Linked DNA regions of Homo sapiens: regions 2 and 3 are each linked to region 1. The links are contacts of gene promoters, found by promoter capture Hi-C in human tissues and cell types (Jung and others, 2019). All regions are on one chromosome and are shown on one strand. Each heading gives the region's core, a stretch centred on a gene start or on the middle of the fragment in contact. The rest is flanking DNA. Distances are from core to core; before and after follow the strand shown. Region 1 holds the start of B4GALT6 (beta-1,4-galactosyltransferase 6). Region 2 holds the start of LOC105372049 (a long non-coding RNA gene). Region 3 overlaps LOC105372049 (a long non-coding RNA gene).

Region 1 (5,144 bases), core at 1,007-3,506:
GGTTTTGGAAACAGATTCAGCTTGACAATTTCACAGCATTTTGTAAGTTTTTGGTTTGCACTCTTCTAACTGGTTTTAATAACTTATTATCATTTATAAGACCTACAAAAACAGAGTAGGTTAAGCCACATCAATCTAATTGCCTACAAGACACGTGCCAACATTTTTACATTATATCAGTGACCGTTCTATGGCAAACATTAAGCATTCAAATAAGGAAAATTTATTAGTGTTTCACACAAGTTGAATTAAGAATCTACAAATAATATACTGACGCACTAACTTTAAAAAAAAAGGGATGACTAGAATTCTGATTTCCTTTGGTTAGCTTTTTGAGTAATATAACTTTAACATGTTACTCATAATACTAAGAAAGTGGGAAAATTGTTATGTAAGTGTGAAAAAAACTTTCTCCAAAATCTTTCAAAGTTAAATTCCTAGTAAAAAAACATACCCCAAAGATGTCCAAACTTTTAAAGAGTTACATGAGAAAGTAAAAATTGCTATAGAATGAAGAGTTAATTTATAAGACTCCAAAATGGCAAAAAATAAAGAAAGCTCTTGTTGAGTATCTAGATAATATCAAATCCACTAAGCTACCACTGTCATTTGTACTATAGGCTTCAAGGGGTAGGTTTTTGTGAGGTTTTTTGTTTTTTCTGGCCTAAAGGAAAACTGCAATAATGTTAAAATATTCTTCAAACTTTACCCTAAAACTTCTATTTTGGGATACGTCAACGTTTCACAATGCATTTCTTCTTAAACATCATCATCTGAGTTTATACACCTCACTGAATCCAAAAATTAATTATTAAAGAAAAAGTCTCATAGTAATTTTAAGAAATGAAGCAGTCTGGATTAGGTTTCCATCTTCCTTCCCTGCTGCAATTCACTGCAATAATCTACTACACTCAAGACAATGCCCTGATCATTCCATCTGAAAATTCTGCAGGTGTTTTCACTCTGTAAGGGGCATTACATTTTTAGCTAACTCGGAACAAAGAGCACTGGCTCAAACGACCACAGTGTGTAAGGAGAAATGAGAGGAGATGCTCACTGTTACTAAGTAATTGAACATTAAATACGTAATAGCCAGGAAAAACTCAGAAAAGTTTTGGAAATATGACATATTTTAATATGCATGTGAAGTTCATAATTCTCATTCACTAGAATTAACGCCGCATTGGCTCCTTTTCAACAAATGGGGGACGAGGAATTCGGATATTTAATAAAGAAGTTAATTCAAGCAGTTTTACAAAAGTGTATTTTGCACCAAAGGCCAAAAAATGATAAACCGGTTAACATTTTAAACTACAAGTTCCCTTAGATAACGGTTATTTTAATCACTATTTTCTCAGAAGTCATCCTAACAGGTAGCAAAGGCAACGTACCCTTGAAAATAACACCCAAGCAGACTAAAATAATGGAGCATTGTTTTTACAAGACAACTCATCGCCTTAAAATTCCCCAAGTATGGCACAAAAAGAATGGGGTCCACTGACCCCATTCTAAAAAAGCGACCTAGGACCCTAGAAAACACACATTGTTGGACTCAATCACATTCCCTGCTGCTGGCTCCTCCATATTTTTACAACCAGTTATTATACCCGAGAGTGTTTGAATAAAACTACGATTAAGCACTCAGTTTAGGCTTAAAGACTTAACATTAAATGGATAAAGCTGTCATGAACACTCAAGAAAGCGACTAGGGCATCCCGGGCCATCACACTAATTTTGCTACGTCTATTTAATGCAATCTTTTACGTTATTAACAAACATGCATTAACAAAATGCATGCATTAACAAAACTCACATACCAAAGCCATGCCCTGAAGCAGTTTGACACGTCTGAAATAACATTTAAAACAAAACGCTTTTCTGCGGGCCCCTGTTTGAACAGCTTCCAAATCCCAGAAGTAACATCGGATAACAGCCTGCGCTGGCTGTGGTGTGACCAGGGGAAGCGAGGGTGTGTCTCGGTGCTTACCGATGCCTGGGGCCACATAGATGAAGTACAGACAGGACGAAGAGAGGGAGAAGAAGAAGATGAAGGCGAGGAGAGAGCGATTGGAAACCCGCATCATCCGCCTGAGCACAGACATCTTCCTCTTCCCTGCCAGCAGCCCAGGCTGCGCTCTCAGGCCGGACTCGGGGCCACTGTCCAGGCCCTAAACTTCCATAAATGTGCTGAGAACCCCGAGACTGCAGCGGGGTCCGCGCGGGGAGGCTCTGGGGAGAGGGCCCGAGCGGAAAAGAGGAAATGGGAGGGAGCGGACGGAATGAATGGGAGGCCAGAGAGTCGGGGGAGGGGAGGCGCGGAGGCCGAGGGACAAGAGGTGGAGGGGGGAGAGGGGACTGGGGGCTAGGGGCCCGGGGACGGCAGGACGGAAGAAAGCCGGGGAAGGGCGAGGAGGAGCGTTTTCTCCGCCAAGCAGCGGCGGGAGGAGGGGCTGCAGGTGGGAGGAGGCGCAGGCTGCGCGCCGCGGCGCCCCTGCGGAGAGGGGCAGCTAACTGCAGCACGCCCGGCTCCGCTGCCCGCGCCCGGCGGGGTCCCGCCGCGAAGCCCCGTGCTTAAGGTCCGGGCCGCCCGCGTCCGCTCGGCAGGCCCTGCGCCGCCTCCTACTCCGGGCCGCGGCGTCTCCTGCCTGCGCGGGGCTAGCGTGGGCGCCGGGGCCGCAACCAGCGCGCGCCACGCGCGGGGGCCCGCGGGGGCCCTCGGGGCCGAGGAGCTGGGCGCTCGCCTGCACCGAGCCGCCTCCTCATGCCGCGCCGGGCCCCGGCGCCCCGCGGCCGCCGCGGGAGCTGAGCACAGGCCAGGGCGGCGTCCCGGCCAGCGACGAACGCGCTCCGACTCCGGCCGCCGCCAGCTGCCTGCCTGGCCGCAAGGGCGGCAGCGGCATTACCGCCGCGCGCCCGGGGTGAGGCGCCCCCGCCGGGCCCGCGGACACCAGGCGAAGAGCAACCGGGCGACGCGCGCTGCGGGCAGAGCCGGGGAGCCGGAAGAGCAGAGGCCGAGCGCCGTCGGAGCCGCGTCTGGTTGGAGAAAGAGGCGGACGTGAAGGGGCGGGGGAGCCGCGGAGGAAAACCGGGACCGGCGGGAACGTCTCGAGACCCCTGCGCGCTTCGCGCGCTCGCTCGGAACTCGGCAGGCGGCGCTGCGCCGGGCCCCGAGGAAACCTGGAGGTCCCCGCCCTCCCCGCGCCCGAAACACCGCGCGTCCTGATAGGCCCGCGCCCAGCAGCCCCCTCCCCGCGCCCGCCGCACCGGGGCCCCACCGCCTCCTGCGTCACCGCCGCCCCCGCCCGCCCGGGGACCCCGCGGTGACCGCGCTGCTGGGGGTTGAGGGACGCGTTGCGAGCCCCGGATACATTGTACCCTGGGGGTACATAATGAAGGATGCTGTACCTGAAAGGAAAAGGGCATCTCCAAAAGGGGACTTCGCGGGTGGAATTTCCTTCCAAAATCCTCGAGGAACAAGGTGTATTTCCGACCTGGATTAATGAATCCCCCCTCCTATCCCGCACTTCCTGTGGAAACAGTGTCAGGATGTGGCGCGGACCTATGTGCGTCCCTTATACCAGGACTTGCCTTCAACGCTGAAGGTGAACCCTGGGTCATCCTCGCTGTATTCAGGCGGCGCTGCAAAGGCTTCTGGGCAGCCAATAGGCCCTTGAGCGCCTCAGCCCCATCTTGCTTCAGTAGGCAAACGGACGGGTGTCTTCATCCACCTCCTAGGCCGTGGTCTACCCTTCGTTCAAATGTTTCTTCCTGCTAGCTGACTGTCCAGGTCCTTAGCTGTATCACATTGTTCAAATGTGTGTGCGCAGGTGTTTCTTTTTCAACTAATCATGCAGGAAGTGGCGGGATGCCTTACTGCCATTATTTGCTGAGTATTTCCAGATGGAACTGTAGTTGATAGCCAATAAATTTGGTACGTTTTTATCGGGATGCGCATGCCATAGATCGTCCCTGAGATAATGCTTTGCAATGTGGAACCTGAAACACCTATGTATAAGCCCAAGCCTTTCATTAATATTAACTGTGAGACCCCTGGAAGCTACTACTTTGTGTGAGCCTGTTTTCTCCGCCCTCAAACAGTGGATATAATACCCCCTTGCAAGGCTGTGAGATTAAATGGATAACTGTGCATAATGCTAAGCATGGTGTCTGGGACGTAAGAGGTTCCTTATATCCCATTAGTTCACTAGGTGGGATCACCAAGTTGAAATTCATTTTTTAATATTTTGCTTGTTGGAGTACTCACAACTCAACTTCTCTGGCTAATTTGATGTTTAATTTGAAAGGTAATGACACTATTTTGTAACATTTTTAGATGCTTAAGGGAAATTTGAAATGCAAAGTGGAACAACATTAAAAGGAAACTCATTTGTAAAATAAAGAAAAACAAAATCTATGCAAGCCAAAGAAGTCATGAATGCTGAGGAAGCAAAAATTGTGATTTTCCCCTCTCCAATCCCACTGTTCATTTATCTTTATTTGCATCAGTTAGACTGGTTGTTTACAAAGCTAATACCACCATACCACTAGTCAAAAGAGAGTTCCATACCTTTGCTGACCTAGTGGTAGACCATTCTTCTCAGGCAAGGTTGGCTTTTTCAAAGGAAAGTTTACTATAAACTGAGAGAGAAGTAGTAACATTATAGAATTTGATGATTCATCTATAAGAAATCTGAAGACTGTACAGATGAACCTAGCTGGCATAGATGACTGCCATCGGTTTCTCCCCTAATTTTAACCCTATCTCTTGATTTCTCTTGTTCGGCAAGTGTCCCCCACGGTACTTGTTAAGACTGATTAGCTCTCCCCAGGAGTAGACTTTTATCTGTTGTACCAGAAAACAAGCCTAGTCGGTGCAGCCATTGTTGTGAGGATTAAATTAAATGAATTAATGCCTGTAAAGAGCATGGGAGAGGCTGGTACATGGTAAGCACCATTCGAGTATTTGTAAAATATATTTTTAGAAATCTCTCCTTGCAGTCACTCTCTGTCCACAGTAACAAATGATGGTTGTCTCTTTCTGCTTAAACACCAAATTTCCTAGTGGGTCACCCATTAAGTCTGTCTCTCATAGTCTGAGGGATGCCTCAGGGTCTCAGCTCATGTTTAAAACAGAGATAGATTAA
Region 2 (5,144 bases), core at 1,021-3,520, 460 kb before region 1:
AAACCCTTCAGGGTACTCAGCAGAGTAAAGGGTGAATAGAGGGCACTTTATTTAACAGGACCCAACTTTTATAAAAGGTAGTTGGGGACTGGGAACCATGGCTCACACCTGTAATCCCAGTACTTTGGGAGGCTAAGGCGGGTGAATCTCTTGAGCTCAGAAGTTTGAGACCAGCCTGGCAACATAGCAAAACCCTGTTTCTAATATGTGTGTGTGTGTGTGTGTGTGTGTGTGTGTGTGTGAGAGAGAGAGAGAGAGAGAGAGAGAGAGAGAGAGAGAGAGACAGAGAGACAGAGAGAGAGAGAGAGCCCGGAAGGTCGAGGCTACAGTGAAAGCTATGTTCACACCACTGCACTCCAGCCTGGGTGACAGAGCAAAATCCTGTCTCAAAAAAAAAAAAATGGCAATTAAAATTTAAAAATAGTATCATTTTTTTCTTTTCTAATAACAATTGCCCTATAAGCATTTCTGGTATAGAAAAGCCAAGTAGACTTGGCTATATGAGACATATTTTTTCCTTTTTATTTATAAATAATGAAAGAACCACAACACATACAACAGCTCAGATGCAGAGCAGCATTTCTTCAAGTCCTTCATTACCTCCGTCCAGAAACACTTTCTTTACTTAACTTCCTCTTCTGTGACTTCACTATTCTTTCTCTCCTCCTGGCCTCTGAATTTTGTGCACACTGCCAGTAAGTACTGGACTCTCTTCTATTTATTTTCTACACACGGACATATTTGGTGGTCACGCCTCATCTCTCAGGTTTAAACACCATCTTTAAACTGAGGCCCAGTTATGCAACCACTTCCTTGACACCTCTACTTGGATCTCCAATAGACAAAATTTAAAATATCTAAAACAAAACTCGTGGTTTAAGACCACACCACAGATTTGCTCCTCTCTCAATCTTCCCATTCATCCAATTTTTCTGGCCAAAAACCTAGAATTCACCTGAGTTGACTCTGCTCCCTTTCACTCTACAGTCAATTCATGAGCATGTCCTAAGGGGCTCATAATTCAAAATGTATCCAGAATGTGAGCTGATCATGTCCCTCACTGCCACCATTCTAGACTAAGCCACCTTCATCACTCACCTGGGCTCTTGCAATTGCCTCTGAAGTCTTCTTTCTGCTCCAACATAGTCAAGTCTCTTTTTGAAAATATAAATGAAATCTTATCGTTACTTGGCTCAATTGTTTCTTGCAGAGTAAGATTCAAGCTTTGCACTATGTACTGGTCTGGCCTGTGCTCTCTGGCTTATTTCACTCCAGTCATCCTGTTTCTTTTGCATCCCAACCTCAGGCCCTTTGGCTTTTACTTATCTTTAAAACAAGTGAGGCAGAAATGGTAACCAGCCATTTGACTCACATTGCATTGGCAAGAATGCCATCACATCACATTATCATCTGCAAAGGACTCAGAGAAATGTAATCTCTGCCAAGGAAGTCATATGATCAACTTAAATTCTATTACTACAACACAGGAGATAATGGAATTTGGTGGACAGTTAGCAGTTTCTGACACAATATTTGGCTCTAGCCACCCCACTGTTTAGATGTAAATTTCCTTCCACAAATGGAACATACTTGTTCCCTTTCCAAAGTAGGTAAGCTGAAGTCTAATTCAGTTATTTCATCCAGCTCAAAGTTCAGGATCACTAGTTGAAACACAGTCCTCTCCACCAGATCAATATGTTACCTCCCTCCAATTCCCACCCCACAAATAAACAGTAGCAGAGCAGGAATAGGATAAATGCAATATAAGCCACAATTTGGAAAAGGAAAGCATGAGAAGCACACTACAGAGACTGATCTAGAGAAGTTATCACTGTGCTGGGTGGGAGTCATTCATCTGTCTGCTCTGGGAGGTGAGTGGGTTCTTGGTTGACCCGTCTGGCTGTCCCTGGTTCTACTCTCTGAGAGGAACTCCTTTGCCTGTGGTCGTTGTGGCCTCTGACCTTGCCTTCTGGGCACTTATTTTGTGTCTTTTACATGAATATCAGAAGACTACTTCATGCCTCACAATTTTGCTTTTCCAAATTATGCTGATGGCTAATTTGGTAACGCAATCCATTGAAAACATAGTAACTGCAGGGTTTTTTTCCTTATAATTGATTGCATGTTTCAATAACCATACCTCATTTTTTTAAAATTTAGTTTTAAGTGTATCTGCTTTCTGACTTTTATACTGTAACTATCTGTGTTAGGCTGTTCTTGTGTTGCTATAAAGAAATGCCTGGCCAGGCGCAGTGGCTCACACCTGTAATCCCAACACTTTGGGAGGCCAAGGTGGGTGGATCACTTAGGTCAGAAATTCAAGACCAGCCTGGCCAACATTGTGAAACTCTGTCTCTACAAGAATACAATAATTAGCCAGGTGTGGTGGTGCATGTCTGCAGTGCCAGCTACTTGGAAGCTGAGGCAGGAGAATCACTTGAACCCGGGAGGTGGAGGTTGCGTGAGCCAAGATCATGCCACTGCACTCCAGCCTGGGTGACAGAATGAGACTCTGTCAAAAAAAAAAAAAAAAAAAAAAAAAGAAGGAGGAAGGAAGGAAGGAGAAAAAGAAATACCTGAAACTGAGTAATTTATAAAGAAAAGAGATTTAATTTGCTTATGGTTCTGCAGGCTATATAGGAAGTGTGGTGCTGGGCATCTGAGGCTTCAGGGATCTTTTACTCATGGTGAAAAGCAAATTGGAAGCAGCGGTGAGAGTTGGTGGGGGGGCAGTGCCACACAATTTTAAACAACTAGACCTCACGAGAACTCATTCACTATCATGAAGACAGTACCAAGCCATGGCCATGAGGGATCCACCTCCATAACCCAAACACCCCCTACCAGACCCCACCTTCAACATTGGGGATTACATTTCAACCTGAGACTTAGAGGGAACAACATCCAAACTGTATCGCCATCTTCTCACACTATCTTTCTGGAAATTTCTAACCACTTCACCTAGAGGAACAAGCTCAGTGGGAAATGTGCTTGTCTTGCAAATCATCACATGTCATATTCTTACCAAATGTTTTCAACACATGACTGAAGGTAACCGTAGTTCCCATCTACTATATTTTGTCCTTTCTGTGTGTTACTTGATTTTCAAGCCAAAATCACATCTTTTCTGTTTTTGTGATGTCTATCTGCATCCCACTTTCAATACCAGTCTCTTCAACATTATGTCAAAAAGCTAAGCTACAGTAATAAAGAGATCCCAAAATATAGTCACTTCTCAAAATAAACATTGATTTGTTTCATATATAACCTAATAGTCCCCAAATGAGCAGTTCAGGGTTCCAAGGTGACTCTGCTCTACATAGCCATCCAGGAATCCAGATCTCTTCCTTTTTTTTTTCTTTTCAGCATCTCAGACTTTCTTTTTAACTTTATGGTCAAAGTTGGCTAGTGAGCATATTTGTGTTCAGCTTGAAGAATAGGAAAATCAAGGCCAGCAATTTTCCTTTAAATTGTGGCAGAAATTTTACGTATCACTGCTGCTCATACTCTACTGGTGAGAACTTCATCACATGGCCATAACCAGGCAGTCTCTAACTTCGTGTGTGCAAAACATTATTCCTAGCATGTAAGTGGACTGGGATAACATTTTATTTGTGATAAGTGATTACAACAATACCACAAGGTAGATTATGTTGCATTTGAGGTATACTAATAAAGGTATCACGTGTCAATTATCTATTACAGGTCAAGAGTGAGTGGCTAGTTTCCTTTTGACTTAGTTGTGTCTTACAGGTTTTTTTGTTTTCTTTACAATAGAGTCTAACTATTTGCCTGTTTGGACAGTAACATATGAGAACTTTTATGCTCATAAAGAATCCTCCTTTTAAGAATTTCCTGGAATAAGATAAAAAATATTATGGTATCTCTATAGGCCAAAGAGAAAATGAAACTTGGAAATGTATAAAAAATGATAATAACAAAGAGGCGTGGAAAAGAATTCTAACTCAAGTTCCTTAACTGAAATCCACAGTTTGACTGTGAGATAAAGCTACCTCCAAGTGTGAATTCACTTCCCCAACATTACAAGACACCATACTGCTTTTAAGCTTGTGAGAATTAAGACACTCTTACAGTGGAGTCCACAATAAATAACAATTCATTGTATGAAATATGAAATATTATGTACCTTTTTGATCATTGTGAAGTTGTTATCAATTTTGCTTTATTTTTAATTTCTTTTAGATTTTTGGTTATACAATGACCCCATGCTGTAATTCTCAAGTATGACTCAGTCATGAGTCCGTAGTAAAAAAGAAAAAATAGCAGGATAATCATCCAGGTAGCCTCCTGTTTCAACCAAGTAGAATTAACAATGCTTTGTTTAAACAAGTCTCATTTTCAGTAGTGAAAGACGGTCTTTTCTGTTCAGTGAGTCATACCCAACCAAAGACATGCCAGAATGATGCAGTGACTACATAGAAATAATACAGGCTCTGTCTTACCTCTCTGAGAAGGAAAAACGCAACCTATGTTGGTTAAATAAGTTTTTGATTAAGTGAGACATTCAATTGCCAAATGAATATAAATTTCTTCAAAATATGTTTAATAGTTTATTTTCTGATTACATGTGTGGCCTTAATTCTGTTGAGTTCAACTTGATAGAATGTCAAATTCAGAGAGATTCATAAGTTTATAGTTCTTATGAAATGTCAGATTACGAGTAGGGTTGTTTTAAAACTCAAGGGAAGTAACACATTTTTAAAAAGAATTGAGCCTACTGATCTCTTAAGAGATTCGATTTTTTAGAACTTTCGTATATCAGAATCTCAGCCAGGCATGGTGGCTCATGCATATAATCCCAGCACTTGGGGAGGCAGAGGCGGGCGAATCACCTGAGGTCAGGAGTTCGAGACCAGCCTGGCCAACATGGCGAAACCCGATCTCTACTAAAAACACAAAAAAATTAACCGGACATGGTAGTATGTGCCTGTAGTCCCAGCTACTCGGGAGGCTGAGGCACCACTTGAACCTGGGAGGTGGAGGTTGCAGTGAACTGAAATCATGCCACTGCACTCCAGCCTGGGTGACAGAGCAAGACTCTGTCTCAAAACAAAACAAAACAAAGCAAACAAAAAAACTTCACTTAACAAGAGTTGGCAAAAAGATCAATAATGAAGTAAAAG
Region 3 (5,144 bases), core at 809-3,308, 440 kb before region 1:
GCAAGAAGAGTGTTATTGTACTTTTTGTATTTATCACAACACCTAATGAGGTGCCTGACTTATTGGCAATCAATTAATACTATCTAGACAAATGGACTTGAGCAGGTGACCACCTGAAACTAACTAGCACACAATAACAAACACTTGAGCTGCACAGAGACCCAGGTTCTTATCCTGATTCATTCATTTATTGTGGTTTTGGAAAATTTGTAAATCACTTAAATGTACAGGGATTTATGTCTTTTAAGGTATGAAAGCTATGCTGGATAGAGGTGCTTTCTGAAGTCTTTTTTTTTTTTTCATTCAACAAACTTTAGCGCAAAGTAAAAGAGACAATGTTTCTGCTTTCATGGAGTGTATACAATGGGTGAGGGGGTGGGAAGGAACAAGTAAAAAGCAAGGTGATTTCAGAAAGTATTAACTGCTGTGCAGACCATACAACAGGGGAAAGAGATAAAGAGTTAAATCCCCTAAGACGGTCCTGGCTGTTTGTTGGCTTTATTTTTAATTTCTCCTTTTTCTCTAAATAGAAATCAACAGACTTTCTTGAAAAGAGGACTTGATTATCAGAATCAACTGTGGAGTGTTTTACAAATAACAGGTTTTCAATGCTCTACAGATTTTACAGGGATGTAAACCAGAACCCTGAAAGCTCTAGTGTCTTCACAACAGTTCCCTTGAAAACACTGGTACTGCTAGGGGAATGAACAATTTACATATAAATAATTTATATTTTAGTTGTCTCTAAGTGTGAGACTGTAAGAAATTCATTTTGAAAACCACTCAAAGGTTTCCTGATTTTCATACTGTCCTTAGCCGATAAGCTCTTAGACTGATTTGACTTCTAAAATACCTTCTAACTTGAATTCATTTGAAAAGCCCGAAGTGTTAAAACTCATGGATTGAGATAAATAACCTTCCAATGGAGTCTAGCAAATTGGAAACTGGACTTGGTCTTTGATCTCAGGGAGGTACGCGTACTACAGACGGGTCATTGTGCTTGCCCAGACAGGACACGAGGTAAGACTTCCTTACTTAAACTTGACACATACAGCATGGTCAGAAACAGCAGATGGGGTCATTTGTTATCTTTAACACTGTACGCCGGCCCAAGTAGGGCAGGACAGTGGGAATCCCATAAAACAGAGCCAGCTTTCATGCTAGGAGCAGTACTGTAGTCACCCAATCATACGGCAGAAATAGTAAAGGTCATGCTTCCTCCACAGTGGTGAGGTGCAGCAGCTTCCTTGGCAAATGACTTCTGCGTACTCTCCCCACATGGAGGAGATTGGTCATGCAAAGTAGGTGTTTTCAGGGTACAGGAAAGCTTTCCAAGATTGCTTCTAGAAGCTATGGCAAATGTATTTTCAATTTAAATGTATCTTCCTATTATCAGCACTTTAAATTTGCCATTTATCAGAAAGGGCCTTTTTCCTCTTTTCCTTCCTGCATTTGTTTTCTGTGTAGGTTTGCTTTTTGTCTGTTTGTTTTGGCCTTTGAGGAATGTGACTTCCTAAGGTCACCCTGGAAAACAAAGAAGCAAAACAAAACAAAAAAAGAACTCCGTTTTCACTAAAATGGAGTCCGAAGATGTGGGTTCAGTGCTTTATCTGGCTGTCTCTGTAACCTGGGGATCACATTCGTCTCACAGGGAAAGTTTTGTGAAGATCAAATAAGAAATAATTTGGATATTGAAATGCTCCCCAAGGTTCAAAGACCTGCACATTTAGAATGCTTGGCAGCCCCTGGTCTTTTTGTGTGTGCTGCACTTGGGACATTTATCAGAATCTGAACACATCAGAAACTGACCCAATGATAGAAAAGAACTGGAACTAGGGGTGATCAGAATAACCTCCTGAGAAGGCCGTCCCAATGGAGAAAGGAGTTAGTGTCCTGAGCTTTGTGGTCCTGCACCAGCTCTTGGCTAGTCTGCTGCTGAAGTATTCTGTCAGACCTGAAGAAAAATAGAGGGCAATAAGAATCGGTACTGACAAACAGGCCCAGGCACCACACTCCCGAAGACCAACACCATAAACAATCTGCCTGGCAGGGTTAGAGTCTGTAGAGGCTGGGGAGGCAGTAGTACCCAGAGAAAAACAACTCGAAAGTGGAACCTTTTGAATAACAGCCCATCTCACAGTAGAGTCCTTTACACCAACAAAAACGAGTCTTGGTCAGTGTCTCTAACATACGTTTAATTTCCTAGACAAATCTTGCATCTCTTCATGATTTAGCTTCTTGTTTACAATGCAGCTTTCTTAAATGGAAAGGAAACTGCTGAATCTCAAATTGCTGTGTAGTTTGTCAGACAATGACATCCTTCACTGCCAGCGTTGAGCACACTCCCTTTTTAATCCATTTTGCCTGATGAAGCATAGCATTTTCTGCAGCCTTCTGAGCTGTTAAGAGAATATTTCAACTGCAAACACAAAGAAGAAATGTTTGAAGTGAAATGAACTATGGGCTAATCGGGAAGGGCTTGAATGAATGTCAAAATAAGAGCTCACCTACTGCACATTTTTAAAAAGAAGTCTATGTTAATGGAGTCAAAACACTGGCTTCAGTGTTTTATCTTTATTGATGAAATTACCACATTTGAAAAGTAAACACTATTTTATTTTATGTCTGATAGAAAATATATATACGCTATGGAAGAAATTTTGAAAATACAGAAAAGCAAAAACAAAATGATGAAATAAAATAATCTTTAACTTCCCACATTCAGATGTGAAGCACTGCTTATATTTTGTTTTTATGATACAAAAAGAAGTCTGTAATGCAAGCTGTCCTTCCCTTAGCAGTCTGACAAATGTATTGCATTGGTGTAAAAGTAATTGCGGTCTTTGTCTTTACTTTTAATGGCAAAAAACACAATTACTTTTTCATCAACCTAATATATTTGGCTCGAGTTAAAAATATTTTTTAAATGATTAAAAGTAAACACTAATCTAGCATATAGGACTTACAGCTTAAAAATATTAAATACACAAATTTTCTGTCCTCAGTAAGCTAACATCTCAGGTTTTATATGACTTATATGAATGAAATGACAATGTGTTATTTTTGAAAGCTTATTCAAATAGTAGGAGAGGACATACGAAAACAAAATATGAGGTTTGGGGGCTTGACTCCTCCCTGAGAAAACGCAAGAAGCTCTTTCTCAGAGGAGTCATACCTAAATAGCCTGTGTGGGTGTGGTTAGTGTTTTTATTTAAGTGGGCGGGGAATGGAAGCTTCTTTTGGTCTTGCTGAACATTTAGCTTGGATTTGTTTTATTTATATGGCTACCTAGTTTTTGCTCTGATGGTATAAACCCTGGCTTTTATTTCAAAGTGTTTTTATTTCCATTTTTTAATTTAAAATAATCCCATAACTTCTTTAGTCTCAAGAGCCTATCCATGTCAACCTTATTAGTTCCTACTTGTTAATACTTTTAGAAGTTTGAATTTAGTTGGTACTTTGGATTAATGTCCTAACATAAAATATTCTATTTTATACCATGCTTGGAATCCGAAACTCTTATTCCAAAATGAAATCTGACATCTCACCAGCAAACCTTGTGCCTTGTATTTATATTGTAGAATATCTTAGAAACCAGTCCACTGGTACTGCTCAGTAATTATCTCAGGACAAGTAGGTGCTATTGATTTGTTAGCCACCGTTGTCTTAAATTAAACTTGGATAGTGATATATGGGTACCAGGTTAAATGTTCAGAGGAATGATGCTTAGAAGACAGAATGAACAGAATGGAAGTTGGAGGATCTATTAGAAATGGGTCTAGATAGGACACAGAAAACAGGAAGTGGAGACCAGATGCCCTCCCACCCTCCCCGACAACCCCAGAAAAAGATGGCTCAGATAGAGTGAGTCTGGCTGATAGCTTTGGTCATTCAGCTGCCACAGTTTGGTGTATGTTTCCAGAAAACAGGAAGTAAAGCAGTCCTGACAACAGCCATAGACAAAAGCTCTCAAGAATTAGAAGAAAAGAGGTGCTTATTAGCCTAGGAGCTTAGCTGAGCAGATTTTCCTCTAAGACTCACATATGCAGAAAAGCTGGAAGACTGCTTGCAGGAATGAGCCTTGCCTGAAAGCCCTGGAAAGAAAGAAGGAGCCAGAATTCTTGTGTGAAAGAAATAGGCTTTTTTGGCCAGGCGTGGTGGCTCACGCCTTAATCCCAGCACTTTGGGAGGCCGAGGTGGGAGGATCATTTGAGCTCAGGAGTTTGAGACCAGCCTGGACAACATGGTGAAACCTCAACTCTACAATAAATACAAAAATTAGCCGGGTATGGTGGCATGCACCTGTAGTCCCAGATACTCGGGAGGCTGAGGTGGGAGGATCACTTTAGCCCAGGAGGCAGAGGTTGCAGTGAGCTGTGGTCGTGCCACTGCACTCCAGCCTTGGCAACAGAGTGAGACCCTGTCTTAAAAAAGAAAAAAAGAAAGAAAAAAAGAAACAAGCTTTTTCAATTAAATTCCACAGAAATGATAAATCTTTGCAGTTGTAACAATATATAAAATGTGCAGTTCATTAAGATTTTAAATATTTGTATGCCTTAAGCAGTGGTGAAAAACGAGAATTAAGCCATTTAGAAATACTCCACAAGACTAATTCCATAAAAAAATTTATGGACTACAGAATAGAGAAAATGCTTTAATAATGGACAATATAGTTTATTGTCCCTCTCTTGGGAGAGAGGTAGCTTTATTCTCTAATAATTAATTTAGCTACCTTTAAGACAAGTCAACTGAAGAACACGTCTTAGTTTTTCTTTCTTGCTCATGATAGAAAAAGTTTCTAAGAAATAAGCCTCTGTACTAAATACTAGTCAAATTCTGAAAGGCCCAGTCACTGGTAAAACTAGCACCACAAGTCAGAGCTGCTAACTACCGCTTAGGTACTAGAACCACCTCCCTTGTGAAGTGTTAATGGCCTCAGCCCAGCTCCTAGCAGACATCTGTCTACATCACACACAAAATAAATTTAAATTGGCAGTGTCTGCAGAGAAAATGACATTTCATGGATGTGGAAATAAACCAACCCTTCAGATAAGAAATGACCTCACATTCTAGAGATAGTCTCTTCAGGGTGAGCTCTGAGAAGCCAAACTTTTTCAATTCCTTTCTCACTATTTCCTGACCCA

The links. Contacts are between HindIII fragments. The study calls those that stand out against the background at their distance.
Region 2: a fragment that was not itself captured here is called in contact with the fragment with the promoter of B4GALT6 in region 1 in 1 of the 25 tissues and cell types used here (lymphoblastoid cells).
Region 3: a fragment that was not itself captured here is called in contact with the fragment with the promoter of B4GALT6 in region 1 in 1 of the 25 tissues and cell types used here (lymphoblastoid cells).

The regions. Positions count from the first base shown.
Region 1 is chr18:31,682,325-31,687,468 of GRCh38, forward strand. B4GALT6 (beta-1,4-galactosyltransferase 6) reads right to left here and starts at 2,257. Exons shown (of 9, transcript NM_004775.5): 1 at 1,988-2,257. The coding sequence starts at 2,102. RefSeq lists a silencer at 2,354-3,393. The HindIII fragment of the contact is 7,513 bases long and covers 1-3,977 here.
Region 2 is chr18:31,226,340-31,231,483 of GRCh38, forward strand. It overlaps LOC105372049 (a long non-coding RNA gene), which reads left to right and starts at 1,773. Exons shown (of 4, transcript XR_001753388.2): 1 at 1,773-1,871. The HindIII fragment of the contact is 5,175 bases long and covers 1-4,858 here.
Region 3 is chr18:31,242,826-31,247,969 of GRCh38, forward strand. All of the region lies in intron 1 of LOC105372049 (a long non-coding RNA gene), which reads left to right. Among named protein-coding and RNA genes, the nearest start is that of DSG1, 73 kb to the right of the region's middle. The HindIII fragment of the contact is 3,577 bases long and covers 271-3,847 here.